Linked DNA regions of Homo sapiens: regions 2 and 3 are each linked to region 1. The links are contacts of gene promoters, found by promoter capture Hi-C in blood cells and fetal thymus (Javierre and others, 2016). All regions are on one chromosome and are shown on one strand. The core of a region is centred on a gene start or on the middle of the fragment in contact, and the rest is flanking DNA. Distances in the headings are between cores, read along the strand shown. Region 1 holds the start of CCDC71L (coiled-coil domain containing 71 like). Region 2 overlaps HBP1 (HMG-box transcription factor 1). Region 3 has its middle 7.1 kb from the start of SYPL1.

Region 1 (4,881 bases), core at 1,771-4,270:
GCTTTTATTGAATGCTGTGTTCCAGGCACTACAGTAAGTGTTTTATGAATATTCTCTCGTCCAGTTCTTAAAACTTTGAAGTTAGAAGTTATACTCATTTTATAGATGAGAATGCTGAGACTCAGAAAGGTGAAAAATGTGTCTAAGAATATTTTTTTGTAAAGATATAATTGACCCCAAGTTTATTTGATTCCAGAGCTGATGTTTGCAACCACTTATATAGATTTTCAAAATTTTTTTGGCCACTTTTCAAGAGGCAGATTATTTTATAGAAATTGGATTCTAAAGCAATACTTCTGGGTAGCTAAAAGATACATTTTATTTAATTTTTCCCATCACTTTATTCGGCTTGGATTTATTTTTTAACTACATAAATATTGAATACAGAAAGTAAATACATACAGCTTTTTTTTGTTTATTATTATTCATCACTTATTTAGCAGACATAGGAGGCATTATTACCCTTGAGAGGTAAAGGAATAAACTAAGGGTTGTAAAATATCGTTACTCAAGAGCAAAAATTTAATTTGCCAACTTTCCATAAACTTCATAGTATCTCAAGTCTCAGGAACTAGAAGAGATACATTATTTCTATGTGTAAATTTTGCTTATTTATGGAGAACAGATAAGGAACCATTTGCAAGACTATTAGAGTTAATTAAAAGGTGGAGGTCAAGAAAAAATTAAAAATAATAGAGGAAACAGAATAGAGCAAATAATGTCAAATTTAAATGTATACGATAACATAAGCACTTTATCATGATATTAGTTCCTAAAAGTATTTCATAAAAAATATTGTTTGGTTTTAAGTAAATTAAATGAGCATGCATTATAAAATGAACTCTTGAATACTTGGCAAGTTGAGATCTTATGTTTTCTTAGAACCAAAATTGTGTTTAAAAAAGGTTTATCTTCTTAATTGAAATAAGTTCTATACATTTATGTAAATGTCTGGAATATATTTATGTGGTAAAGACCCTGAAGAATTTATAAAATGATGATTATCAAGGAAGGGAGGGGATTCCAATATGAAAAGCCAGGTCTACTTTAATCCTTGTTTTATCCTTGCTTTTCATTATGAAGCCCCCCTAACTTTCTCATGGCTCACTCTAGATTTTGGGTATTCCAATGGAAATTATTCAAATTTCACTTTACTATGTGTCTCAGAATTACGGAAAGAGCAAATTGTGATGTAAAGAGTTGTTGCTATATCATTCCTTTATAAGGATTTAGGAAGCTGGTATTTGGCTCTGTAATCTTGTTCTGAGATCAGAGTGTGCTTTTCTAGGAAAATGATTTTCTATTCAGAAAGTTACCATGATTTTGCTAGAGAGCTGGTTCCTGGTTAGATGTTTTATTTTTGCCATAAGCCCATTGTGTGGAGTTTTATTTTTGCCATAAACTCATTGTGTGGTGAGAGCTTTCAAGAATTTGACATCTCTGGTGTAGAGCTTTCAAATTATTTATTTTAGGTTTTATTGAAACTGAACAAACAAAATATTATTCATAAATCTATTATAAGACAGAGAAAAACTGCTCAATTCTGGGTGGGGTGGAAGTAGGAATAGGGGTACAGCTCTGTCCTTCGTCATTCTACTTATGCATAAAGCATGTTCTATTGAATTCCTTAGAGTCTGGACAGCACAGTTTGAAAAACCTTCAGTGAAATACAAAGATCACTAGATTAGAAATCGAAGGATTTAGAATCCCAGTTCTGCTATCAGCCAGCTGTGTTACTGAACCTCTATGGTACAGATTTCCTCACCTGTTAAATAAGGAGAATGAACTAGGTCTCTTTCAGGTCAAATATTTGAGGAAACCATTAGCAACTACATGTAAATCACAAAACTCCTATACTTTATTTGTTCACTACTGCAAAATAAGATGTTTCCTGGGTAAAATCCACATGCCCACCTCAAAGTTCTAAGTGTCAGGAGATTTTTTCTTTTAACCTTAAGAAATTTAAAGGAGTTCTGTGAAAATTGCAATATAAAATATCTAATTGTCCTGTTCTAAGCAGTTTCAACATTTCTGACTCTATTTGGGATAATCGGTGGTATTTCATTGATTCATTCGGCAAACACATTGAGTGTCCACTACCTGACAGGAACTGAGTTAGGTATAGAGGACAGAAAAGATGACTAAAGGATGTCCACTACTCTCCTCCCAATACAAAAGGTAATGTGTTTTGAACAATTTGTGTTTTTCAACGAAACCTTATCTGTTGTCTGCGATGATGCATCCTTTCTAAATGATAGGGGTGGCTTTGACATTTTAAAACTAAATGAAAAACGAATTGGCATCCATAAAGAACTGTGTATTTAAAACTATATTTTCTTTTCACAGAATGGCTTTATTGTAATAGATCTTTGATCAACTTGAGCAAAGAGTATTTAGTTTTATAGGGTATGACATGTTTTGCTTTCTGGATAAGCAGGGTCTCTCTTAAATATGAAGATGGCTCCAGTGTCCAGAGGGAGACTAAAATCTCTCAGCTGCCAGCCACGCACATTACCTGAATGATTCTGGATTACTACTGGCTTCTTGAGATGGGCTGGGGTCAAGACAGGGAAGAGTTTTGAATGAAGATGCCAGAAGAGGCCTTTGAGAGGGTGGATGGGAATTGCGAAAGGCCCATTTCCCCTAGACTTAAACCCAAATTCCCTAGCTGTGATGATACCAGGAACATCCTTCAGGGAAATCTCCCTTTGTTATCCACACTGGTAGAGCTCCCAGCTCAATCCACAACTGCACACCCCCTCACTCTAAGAGTCACTCTTCCCATGGTGTAGCCAACATCCACCCTCTTACTCTAGACGTGGCAGCCCTCCTAGATCCACCCAACCGTTGACTTACGTTCAAAGGCCATCACCCACCCCAGCACCATCTTCCAGGAACTGGCCTCTCCCCCATCAGTCCCCGCCCCTCTTCTGAGAGCACCCAATGGGTGGAGTCGGGGCTGCGGTGGGAGGGGCCTGAGGCGGGCACATTTAAAGAAAGGCAGCCGGCGAAAAGAGGCAAGAGAGGAGAAGAAAGAGAAACCAGGGGGGCGAGGCGCCGTCCAATGACAAAGCCCAGGGGTGGGCGCCGGCCGCCATCTTGTACCGGGCAGCAGGATATTCGCCCGCGTCCTCCGCCCTCGGAGGGGGAGGGGCGGCGGCGGAGGCGAGAAAAGTAGCGAGAGACGCCAGCAGCAGCCGCCGCCGCGGAGCCAACGCGGACTGGGACGGCGGCGGCAGTAGTGGGACCCGGCGAGCGTGAGTGGCCCGGAGCGGCCTTCGATGCGGCGCAGTATGAAGAGGCGGCGGCGCCGGCGCCCGGTCGCCCCGGCCACGGCCGCCCGGGGCGGCGACTTTAGGGCAGAAGACGGGGCTGGGTTGGAGGCGCGGGAGGAGAAGGTGGTGTACTCGCGGTCGCAACTGTCGCTGGCTGACAGCACCAAGGCGCTGGGCGACGCCTTCAAGCTCTTCATGCCCCGCAGCACGGAGTTCATGAGCTCGGACGCGGAGCTCTGGAGCTTCCTCTGCAGCCTCAAGCACCAGTTCTCCCCGCACATCCTGCGCAGCAAGGACGTCTACGGCTACTCCTCCTGCCGGGCCCTGGTACCCGACCCCCCGGGGCCCCCTACAGCCCGCGGCCAGGCGCGCCGGCCGGTTCCGCGCGCAGCGGCCAGGAGGAGGCGCCGCGGAGCCCGGGCGGCCGCTGCCCGCAGGAGGAAGCCCCGGCCGCCACCCCCACCGCCGCCGCCCCCCGAGGAGAGCTGCCCGGCCAAGCCCGTGGCCCCCGGGCCCTGCTTCGGGGGCCGCACCTTGGAGGAGATCTGGAGGGCGGCCACCCCGACGCTGACCACCTTCCCCACCATCCGCGTCGGCAGCGACGTGTGGGGCGAGCGCAGCCTGGCGGCAGCGCGGCGCAGGGCGCGCCAGGTCCTGCGAGTGAACCTGGAACCCATGGTGAGGCTCCGCCGCTTCCCGGTGCCCCGGGCATGAGGTGCGGCCTCCAGGGCGCCTCCTGCCGGCCCCGACCTTGGGACAGGCCTTCCGCCCGGAGGAATGAACAAGTGTCAGTCGAGTGTTTACAGATCCGGCCAGGACCCCGGCCCCCAATGCACTTTACGCGCGAAGAAGTTGCCGGATGGTTGTCCCTGTCCCGGGCCGCGGCGCGGTCGTCTTGGACGCTGGGGCAGGTGTGCCCTCTGCTGCCTCCCGTACCCGGCCTGCGGAGGGAGGGGACAGCTGGACCCGCAGGGGAGGTCCCTTTCTTCCTGACCACCGATTGAGACGTCTCCAGGACCTTAGGGGCAGATCCGTTTTCTCACTGTTGGACTCTACCTCACTGGTCTGGAAGTCCTCCGAAGACATTATTTTTCCAAAGGAATTTGGTTTCGTGCTTGTGTAATAAAGCCAGAATTTACTTGTTCTTTATCTCCCCCTTTTTCTATTTCACTGTCACCCCTCTTTGTGGACAGAAGTTCGAACATGTGGTGTTGCACTAGTTTGTGCTCAGGGTATTCTGAAGCCCACTCGTTTCCTAATTTTTACTGGATTCCAAAGCTTTGATCGAGGATATTTTTTAAGAGGTTCAAGCTTGTGACTGTTAGTAGTGCAAGGATTTGTATGGGCTCAGTGATTACAAACAAAGACATGCAAAATACAACTGTTTAAACATTTTCAAGGTATTTTTAAAGGTTTTGTATTGAAACAATGTTTATATTTACTGAGCTCCTAAAAATGGTAGAATACACATGAAAACTTTTGTTTAGGAAAAGTTAACTTGTTAAATTCTTTTGAATTGAATAAAAAAATGCATTGAAACCATATGGTGTGTGATTAAAAAAAATGAATAAATTGTGAAGAACTGGTTTTGGTTACAGGAGTCACT
Region 2 (4,470 bases), core at 234-2,733, 510 kb before region 1:
GGGTATGGCTTTGTGCACTAGTTTTTGTTTCCAGGTGCAGAATACTGAGATACACTGGGCTAAAAATGGTTGCTAAATTCCTACTTATTAAAAAAATCATTTATTTAATAAATACTATGTACAGGGCATTGTATTAGTTGCAATGCTGGATCTCACTAATGAACAATTCATCATGAGTCTGACTTTAGTGGAAAGATATAAGCAAATGACCATAGTTCTACAGAGCAGGACTTGGCTATGAATGGGTTAAAAGAAAAGAAGGGGCTAGATCAGTGGTTCACGCCTGTAATCCCAGCACTTTGGGAAGCCGAGGAGGGCGGATCACGAGGTCAGGAGTTCCAGACCAGCCTGACCAACATGGTGAAACTCAGTCTCTACTAAAAATACAAGAATTAGCCAGGTATGGTGGCACGCGCCTGTAATCCAACCTACTCAGCAACCTGAGGCAGGAGAATCGCTTGAACCCGGGAGACAGAGGTTGCAGTGAGCCGAGATCGCACCACTGCACTACAGCTTGGGCAACAGAGCGAGACTCCATTTCCGAAAAAAAAAAATGAAAAAAGAAAAAAAGCCGGGTGCGGTGGCTCACGCCTGTAATCCCAGCACTTTGGAAGGCTGAGGCGGGCAGATCACGAGGTCTGGGGATAGAGACCATCCTGGCTAACATGGTGAAACCCTGTCTCTACTAAAAATACAAAAAATTAGCCAGGCATGGTGGCGGGCGCCTGTAGTCCCAGCTACTCGGGAGGCTGAGGCAGGAGAATGGCGTGAACCTGGGAGGCAGAGCTTGCAGTGAGCTGGGATTGCGCCACTGCATTCCAGCCTGGGCGACAGAGCAAGACTCCGTCTCAAAAAAAAAAAAAAAAAAGAAGAGAGGGAGGTCTCCCAATGAGAGAAACTCACATGAGTAAACTCATATAGCTGGCAAAGTCCTAGTGAGATCAGAATATAGAATCTAGTTTTACCACAAAGTAGGATGGCCTTGTGTGTCATGTGATCATGAACACTGAGGCTATACTACTACTACTACTACTATATGGAAAGGTAGTCTAGGATCAGAGTCTTCAATTGTAGTTTAGGAAAACTATTTATTTATTTAGAGACAAGAATAGGGGCTCTGAAATCAGGCTGCCTGAGTTTAAATACCAGATTTGCCACTTACTAGCTATGTACCCTAAATAATTTACTTAAAATCTTCATGCCTTGTTTATAAAATGGCAATAAAAGTACCTACCTCACAGGCTGCTACAAAAACTCAGTGAGATCATGTAAAATGCTCAGAATAGAGCCTAACACAAAGCAAACCTTCAATGTACAGTGGCTAGTGTTATGATTAGCAATTATCAGACAATGAAGAACCACTGATGATTTTTTTTTTTAAAAGAGGTCTGACATGATCAGAACTATACTTTAAAACAGTCTCTTTGAGTCTATGGACAAAATCATACTGAAATACTGTATGAGTATGCAGGAACACCTATAATATTTTAAGGAGGGTATTTTTTTTTTTAAAGAGAGCACTCACATTCCCAGTCTCTATGAAAGCCACCCGTCTCCAGCTTCCTTTGCAATGGTTCTCAGTGCAGATTCCTTATTTATTAACTCTTAAGAGAGAAACTAGTCATACTATGTGAGTTCTTTAAACACCTAATATTAACAGTTTAGATAGGAGATTTTAACTCTTTCCATAGAAGTATTTCTGGCATCTTAAGTATACAGAATATAATTTAACCTATTTTGATAACTAAAAATCCTTATGAATATCCGTACTATGCTTCACATACAGATGTGAGCTGCACAGTCAACCTTATCTGAACTGAAAACATTTCCCATTTTTACCTTTATTATGAAATTTAGAAGCTGCACTACACAGGTATCTCTCTTCAGAGCTATCCTCTGTGTATGAACAGTGCTGTTCTTGGGGTCCACAGAAGCACAGCTGCAGTCTGTCTTGTCTTCCCCCTCCCTCTGCAGAGCTCTTTGGTTTCCTCATTCTTTCCAGCTAGAACTTTTTTCTTCCCTACAGCAGGTCCTGCAGTTTCCAACATTCACCAAGTATAGTACACTAACGTCTCTTTGCAACTTCTATCATTTCTTCAGCACTTTGTCTTAGTTATCAACCACCATCCCAAAACTCCTTAAATGAAGTTGGAAAAAGACATTATTTTAATTTCAAAACAGAGCTACCTATAAATAACCAAAAGAACCAAATAAATATTTACTGAATATAAGTTCTATGTGTTCACACCTCTCATTGCTCAAGGCTATCAGAAGTTTGGTCCTGAGAAAACTGAAGTTCTGCTACTGTAAAGCTACCATACAGTAAGAGAAGCTACACTTCAAGACAACAGACTTCAGTTTCACTCTTACTAGCTGTGTAACCGGGGACAGGTCACTCACTCAATCTCAGACTCACGGTCGGTCCCTCTACTTACCTCACAGGGCTATTCTGAGAATTCAATATATGAAAACAAAATTCAAAACTACATACAAATGGAAATTTTCTGTCTCTTCTGTCTATTCTCAACTATTCTGAAGAAAGAAAGCAAGGTCTCCAATACAATAAAGGAATACCAGGGAAGCCCTTACATTTCTTACTCCCCTACATATATTATACCAATTACATACTCATTTTGATAAACAAGCTCCTCTTTCAAATATCTCCTGGTAGAGCTAACCCTATTGTTCATTCATGCTTTTGTATACTGCTTTGGTATCAGATTCAACACAGCTTGCCTTGTATTTTAGTTAACTCTGCACATGTCATCTCTTCACGAGATCAGTGATTCTCAGTATCTATTTTCCAGAAGTTGTACTCTGAAATGTCATGTTCAGTGTTACAAATTTTACTTTCTTAGAATGCCCCATTGCTTTTGGTATGCAAACTTCCAGAAGCAAATATCCACAAAATCTTAAGACAGGAGAGAAAGAGAGAACTAGAAAAACCTAAGTCTCAATGAATGAAGAAGGAAACAGTTTTACAAAATGCTTACCTACACAGCACTTCCATGTACTTCATCTAATTTTATTTTAAACTCAGAACAACTCTGTGAATAAAGTATTATTATGGATGAGGAAAACAGGACTATGATGACTAAATGGGATCATTTTCTTTTTGAAGGCGAGAGCTGAGAGGGAAAAAAGACAAAAGGTATAAGCCAGCATGGGTTACTTCCTGCTTTCAAGTGCCTATTATTCCCTGAATCCTTACTTTTCCATCATCATCATGGAATCCACAGCAGGATCTTCTATATGCTCTCCCCTAATCCTGAAGGATTTCCATAACCAGTCCAGACTACACGCTCAAATTGTTTTCAAAGAGTAGGTGAAGAAAAGGTAATTTGCAATTAATTTCTATCTCTGAAACTGAGGTATTTTAAATGGATTACATAATTACATGCTAAAACAAGCCTCCATAACAAAGTATATTAAATGCAACTTTCTATACCAAAAGCATCTCTGAGGCTGTAATGCTGTTCTTTTAGAGTATTTTCAACAAAACTTCAAAAGATTTCACAGGTATTTGTCTACAACTCTAGTTTGCCACCGGGCTACAAGAAAAGACAAAACAACAACAAAAACCCTTAGTGGATTCGTTTTGGTCACTTACCACTTTCATGGCCCTGAACAATTAAATCTCTAGGCCTGTTTTCTTATTTGGACCTGTTTTTTTTATTTGTAAATAAGACTAGTGGCCAGGCCCAGTCACTCAGGCCTGCAATGCCAGCACTTTGGGAGACCAAGACAGGAAGATCGCTTGAGCCAGGAGTTCAAGACCAACCAGGGCAACATAGCAAGATCCCATCTCTAAAAAATTTTTAAAAATAAGTAAAAAAAAATGGGACTAGTACCTATCTACCTATCAGAATTGTTGTAGGTATAAAAGATATTACATCCCACAGACACTGCCCAATCCACATCTATACAAGTTCTTAGTAATTTCATGCTCATTCAACATGAAATACTATATTGATCAAGACAATAGAAAACCCATTAATAGCAGAAGCAGTCATCCACAAACTGTTTTAGGAGTACTGTCAATTCAAATAAGTATTTAAGATGAGTCATATAAGATAAGTCACATATTAAAACGACATCATCTAAAAATTCTTATGAAACTTGTTTTCCTAAACTTTGGTGCTTCATAATTTCTATTATCATTTTCTATGGAGAAACTAGAAACATAATTTTCTCCATAATGTGGTTCACTGAGTTTACAAAACTAAGATGAAACTAGAAAGTGAAATCAAAACTTCATTCTATAATTTATCAGTCGAGTAAGCACAAACAATATTTTGCTTTAAAGTGGTTAAATGGCTCCTCAAAAGTATAAGATAAACTCCTAAACATTTTTACATTATCTATAAAAACTTGTGGGAAAAGCTTTTTTTTAAAGCTATGATCAATAACTTTTAAAAACTCAACCACAATTATGGAGAAAATTATGTTTCTAGTTTCTCTATAGAAAAT
Region 3 (4,842 bases), core at 1,609-4,108, 540 kb after region 1:
TAGCCTGATATACAAAGCCCTGACTCTACACTGCTCCCCTAACCCAAAGCATCAGATATATCAAAGTATTTGGTCCCACTATAGAACTCCCCCTCCTCTATCACTATGCCCTACCCTCTGCAGCACCTCTGCTGAAAACTCCCCAGCCCCCATCTACTTGAGGAATCACCTACACATCTCTCAAGCTACAGTGCTGTGTCACTTCCCCTAGGAAGCCTTTTCTGATACACTTTCTTCCCTCTGAACTTCAGTTTCTGCATTAGCAAAATGTGGATTATAATTCCTACACCATACTGTAACTCAAAGATCACATAAAAAAATGACCCTGAAAGTTCTCTGAAAAAGGCAAAGCACTATTCAAAGGCCAAGTTATGTTATTATAAAATAGTTATTACACAATAAGCCTTTTTTTAGAAACTTAATTACAGTACTTGTAATGATTATTATAAAAATAACCTCGGCCAGCACAGTGGCTCATGCCGGTAATCCCAGCACTTTGGGAGGATGAGGCAGGTGGATCACTTGAGGCCAGGAGTTTGAGACTAGCCTGGTCAACATGGTGAAACCCCATCTCTACTAAAAATACAAAAGTTAGTTGGGTGCAGTGGCGCATGCCTGTAATCCCAGCTACTTTTGAGGCTGAGGCACGAGAATCGCTTGAACCCAGGAGGCGGAGGTTGTAGTGAGCCAAGATTGGGCCACTGCACTCCAGCCTGGGTGACAGAGTGAGACTCAGTCTCAAAAATATAAAAATAAAAATAAAATTAACTGCTACAAATTAGAGGACTTTCCCTGTCTATTCACTGCTTAAATGTGAGCTAAGCTTGAAATGGTGATGACACAAATAGACTAAAAGTAGACCCACACAGGGAGGATTAGCATGACCTCTGCCCCACATAGTTTTCAGTAATGAAAAACTGCATTTTATTTGCTTTCAAGAATTATATTCTCATTTCATATTTCTTTCATTTTATCAATGGAACATTCTTCCTTACAACTCTAATTCGCTCTAACCAAAGTCTGATTTCCTTAAATGACTTTTGTTCTAGCACTAAGTCTTAGCTGCTTCCTACCCACCCAATCAGAAGACTGATGCACCCACTCCACTGTTTCTGGAACACAGTGGCAAGAACGGGTAACATTTCCTCAGTTCTTAGTCTGTACCAGGCACTCTTCTAAATGATCTCTTATGATTATAAAATTTAAATCCCACTACAACTCTCATTTCCTGTCTGCAAAATGGGAATGAGAAAATGGAAACTTAGGAAGGTTAAACCTCTTGTCAAAGTGTAGGGTAAATGCCCCTGAGAGGAATAACTTGAACATACCCTTAGAATGGCCCTGTGGGACAGACGCACCTGACTGTGTGTTCCCAGTGAGGGAATACAGGAGTAGCCAAACCAGAGGTTCATTCCTTGTATGAGAGGAACATCTGAGCCCCAGGCCCATCCAGTAGAACAACAGCCATACAGGGGTTTGAGTCCTGAGTTTTGGGTTGGTTGTGTAACCACCCGAGGAGTTTTTCCTGCCTGCTGTACAAAGAAAGAGTACAGCATTACAGTACAGAAAAAGTTTAATAGACATGAGGCCAGCCATGCCACGTGCCTCGTCCAAAGATCGTAGTTTAGGGGTTTTTCAAAGGCAGTTTAGGAGAGGGGTGGGGGTGGCTGGGGTTGCTGCTGATTGTTTGGGGTAGAGATGAAATCATAGGGAGTGGAAGCTGTCCTCCTGCACACTGAATCGCTTTTGGGTGAGGTCACAGGAGTGGGATTGGTGGGTACAGGTAGAGCCATGGGTGTCAGACATTCAAAAAACCTGAAAAGATACCTCAAAAAGCCAACCTACAATAGTGGTGTTATCTACAGGAATGGCTGGCTACGCCTTAGCAGAAATCAGGCTCCTCTCCACCCCCTAGCCTGATGGCCACTCATTAGCTTTAAAAAGGTGTTTGAGTTTGGGGGAAGGGCTATTATCATTAAACTATAACCCAGATGTCTTCTAAAATTAACTCAGCCCAAAAGCCCTGGAATGATTAAGGCAGCTTACAAGCTAAAGGCAAGAGGGGCAGGTGGGCTAGATCGGATCTCTTTCACTATTATAATTTTGTGCACATTTTAAACTGATGGAAAAACTACAACAAAAAAATTCATAGCTCAAATGGTTAACCTGCACTATAGAGTTAAGTAGAGTCTTCTAAAGCTCTCTATCTTCCTCTCTTTTTTTCTGCCTGCTTTAAATCTGCTGTTACTCAGCTGCTAGTGCTGAGATGATACTCATTATTTACGTTCTAACTAGAAGGTAAACATTGGAAACTCATTTAAATTTTTAAAAAAGGTAAAAGAGGTTTTGTTAAACCAAACAACCTAGAATTTTTAAATCTCCCTTAAAGTTAATGGAAATAAATCCAGCACCTCCTTTAAACCTTATTCTTTTTTTTTTTTTTTTTTTTTTTTTTGAGACAGAGACTCACTCTGTCGCCCAGGCTGGAGTGCAGTGGCCTGATCTTGGCTCACTGCAACCTCCACCTCCCAGGTTCAGGTGATTTTCCTGCCTCAGCCTCCCAAGTAGCTGGGACTACAGGTGCGTGTCACCACGCCCAGCTAATTTTTGTAGTTTTTTTAGTAGAGAAGGGGTTTCACCTCATCATTCTCAGCAAACTATCACAAGGATAGAAAACCAAACACCTCATGTTCTCACTCATAGGTGGGAATTGAACAATGAGAACACTTGGACACAGGAAGGGGAACATCACACACCGGGGCCTGTCATGAGGTAGGGGGAGTGGGGAGGGATAGCATTAGGAGATACACCTAATGTAAATGACGAGTTAATGGGTGCAGCACACCATCATGGCACATGTATACATATGTAACAAACCTGCACATTGTGCACATGTACCCTAGAACTTAAAGTATAATAATAAAAAAAAAAAAGAGAGAAGGGGTTTCACCGTTTTGACCAGGCTGGTTTCAAACTCCTGACCTCAGGTGATCTGCCCACTTTGGCCTCCCAAAGTGCTGGGACTCCCAAAGTGAGTCACCGTGACTGGCCCTTAAACGTTATTCTTAAAGCTGACTCTTTTTATTCAATTCTACTGCAAGTTCTCAGTAACTATCCAACTGCCTCTCTTGAGCAGCTTCACCCTGTTGATATTAATGCTTTTATAAGGGAGATAGTACACAATTGCTATTTGCAGGCCGACCTCCAAAACTACAGCCCAGGGGAAATTTCTTTATCTTTGTCCTAGCAATGTTATTTACCCCCATGCCACAACATTGATATGCTGAGGTACTAATTGTTTGGTTTTTTTCATACTCTTTACAGCCTTTCTTCTTTCCTGTCTCCCTAAGTTTACTGTATATTGTCATTTTCCTTAAATATTCTTCTGTGTTTATTCTGTCTGTCATGGCTAACTATTGCTTCCATGGCTACACCAAGCACCCACTATAACCAGTAATATCTCAGGTTGCTAACACAACACACAGCACTAACCGCTGGATATGCTCACGTGGGCAGTCACTCGAGAATGACATTACACTCCTAGCAGTTCCACTATCTATAGAAGAAATTGCTAACACACAAGCCAAATACTCTGGATTCAACTACGCCAGGTACACGCACACCAAAAATACAGGTTTATGAGGTAAACCTAGGCCAATCGATCCCTCATGCCAATCACCCACGGTGACCGAGCAAATAGGGAGGGCACCAGAGATGGCTTATAATGCTAGAAATTCCAAGGAGTCTGGCCCTTTCCCAGGGGCTTTAACACACAAGTCCATTGCAATTACACTGTCAGCTATGATCAAACAAACCAGAATGGAAGCCATGCAATGACTCTTAACAAGTTCACTGTGTACCTCCACAGTTTTTCTCTATGGTGAGGAAACAACAAAGTTCATGCCAGAAAGATTTATAACAATTCCTTTATGCCTATAAATAGTTCAGCAGCCAGGATGGAACATATAGAAATAGCAGTCAAAACTGGACGACTTCTCAACTTCACTAATACATCTACATCTTTTCCTCAATTTTCTCTTATCCCATTAATATTCAAAAATCATATCTGTCAGGCCCCACATTCACATAACACTACAAGTCAAACTTTTACCCCCTTATGCGTGGATAACTACTTTTTGGGTCACTGCCCATCCACATTTAATCCCAGGGGACCATGGGATCCCTCTATTTATGCAAACCATACGGGAATCTAAACTAATCACACCTATGCCTGGTTGTGAGGTTCCTCTTCAGGAGTTTCATTAAAAGGAACTGGGTTCTTCTTTTTATACAGATCTAACATATTTCTAGCCTTGTCTATTAAGTGAAGAGGCACTTACACTACAGTTGCAGCAATATCTGGAGTGCACATATATAACTCCTCAGACTTCGTAACCTCTAGCCAAGCTCCAAATTTAAAATCCTTCTTATGTTGGTCCCTCCAAAGGACATCAGAAGCAGTACTTAGTCTCCCATCATTTAGCATCCTCGCCAATAATAATCCTGTCATAGAGAAAAATGACCTAGGACATTCTGTAGCCAGTGCAATCTTTTGGTTTGCAGATATACCCATGCTTAAGTGCAGTATTCATAATCTCACCATCCTAGTCCAGCAATCTTGGGAAGCTACAATCACGGCCATTGAAGGCCAATGGCAGGCCCTGAACTCGCTGGCAGGGTATGTTTTGCAGAACCAACTCACTTAGGAGGTGCTTCCTGCTGAAGCAGGAGGCACCTGCATGCTGTTAAATAAAACTTGTTGCTTTTACATCAGTAACTCAGGTCAGGTAGAAGAAAGTTTAGAAAAGATAACAGACAACATAAAAATATTAAAGGGCCTTC

Evidence for each region. The method cuts DNA at HindIII sites, captures the fragments that hold promoters and counts their contacts. A CHiCAGO score of 5 or more calls a contact.
Region 2: a fragment that was not itself captured here is called in contact with the fragment with the promoter of CCDC71L in region 1 in 1 of 17 cell types (fetal thymus); the score reaches 5.4 in fetal thymus.
Region 3: a fragment that was not itself captured here is called in contact with the fragment with the promoter of CCDC71L in region 1 in 1 of 17 cell types (neutrophils); the score reaches 5.3 in neutrophils.

The regions. Positions count from the first base shown.
Region 1 is chr7:106,659,297-106,664,177 of GRCh38, reverse strand. It overlaps CCDC71L (coiled-coil domain containing 71 like), which reads left to right and starts at 3,020. Exons shown (of 1, transcript NM_175884.6): 1 at 3,020-4,881. The coding sequence starts at 3,282. The coding sequence ends at 3,989. RefSeq lists a silencer at 3,577-3,846 and an enhancer at 4,197-4,246. The HindIII fragment of the contact is 5,408 bases long and covers 1-4,555 here.
Region 2 is chr7:107,172,115-107,176,584 of GRCh38, reverse strand. All of the region lies in intron 1 of HBP1 (HMG-box transcription factor 1), which reads right to left. Among named protein-coding and RNA genes, the nearest start is that of HBP1, 5.3 kb to the right of the region's middle. The HindIII fragment of the contact is 5,805 bases long and covers 1-4,385 here.
Region 3 is chr7:106,116,962-106,121,803 of GRCh38, reverse strand. No RefSeq gene overlaps it. Among named protein-coding and RNA genes, the nearest start is that of SYPL1, 7.1 kb to the right of the region's middle. The HindIII fragment of the contact is 4,065 bases long and covers 826-4,842 here.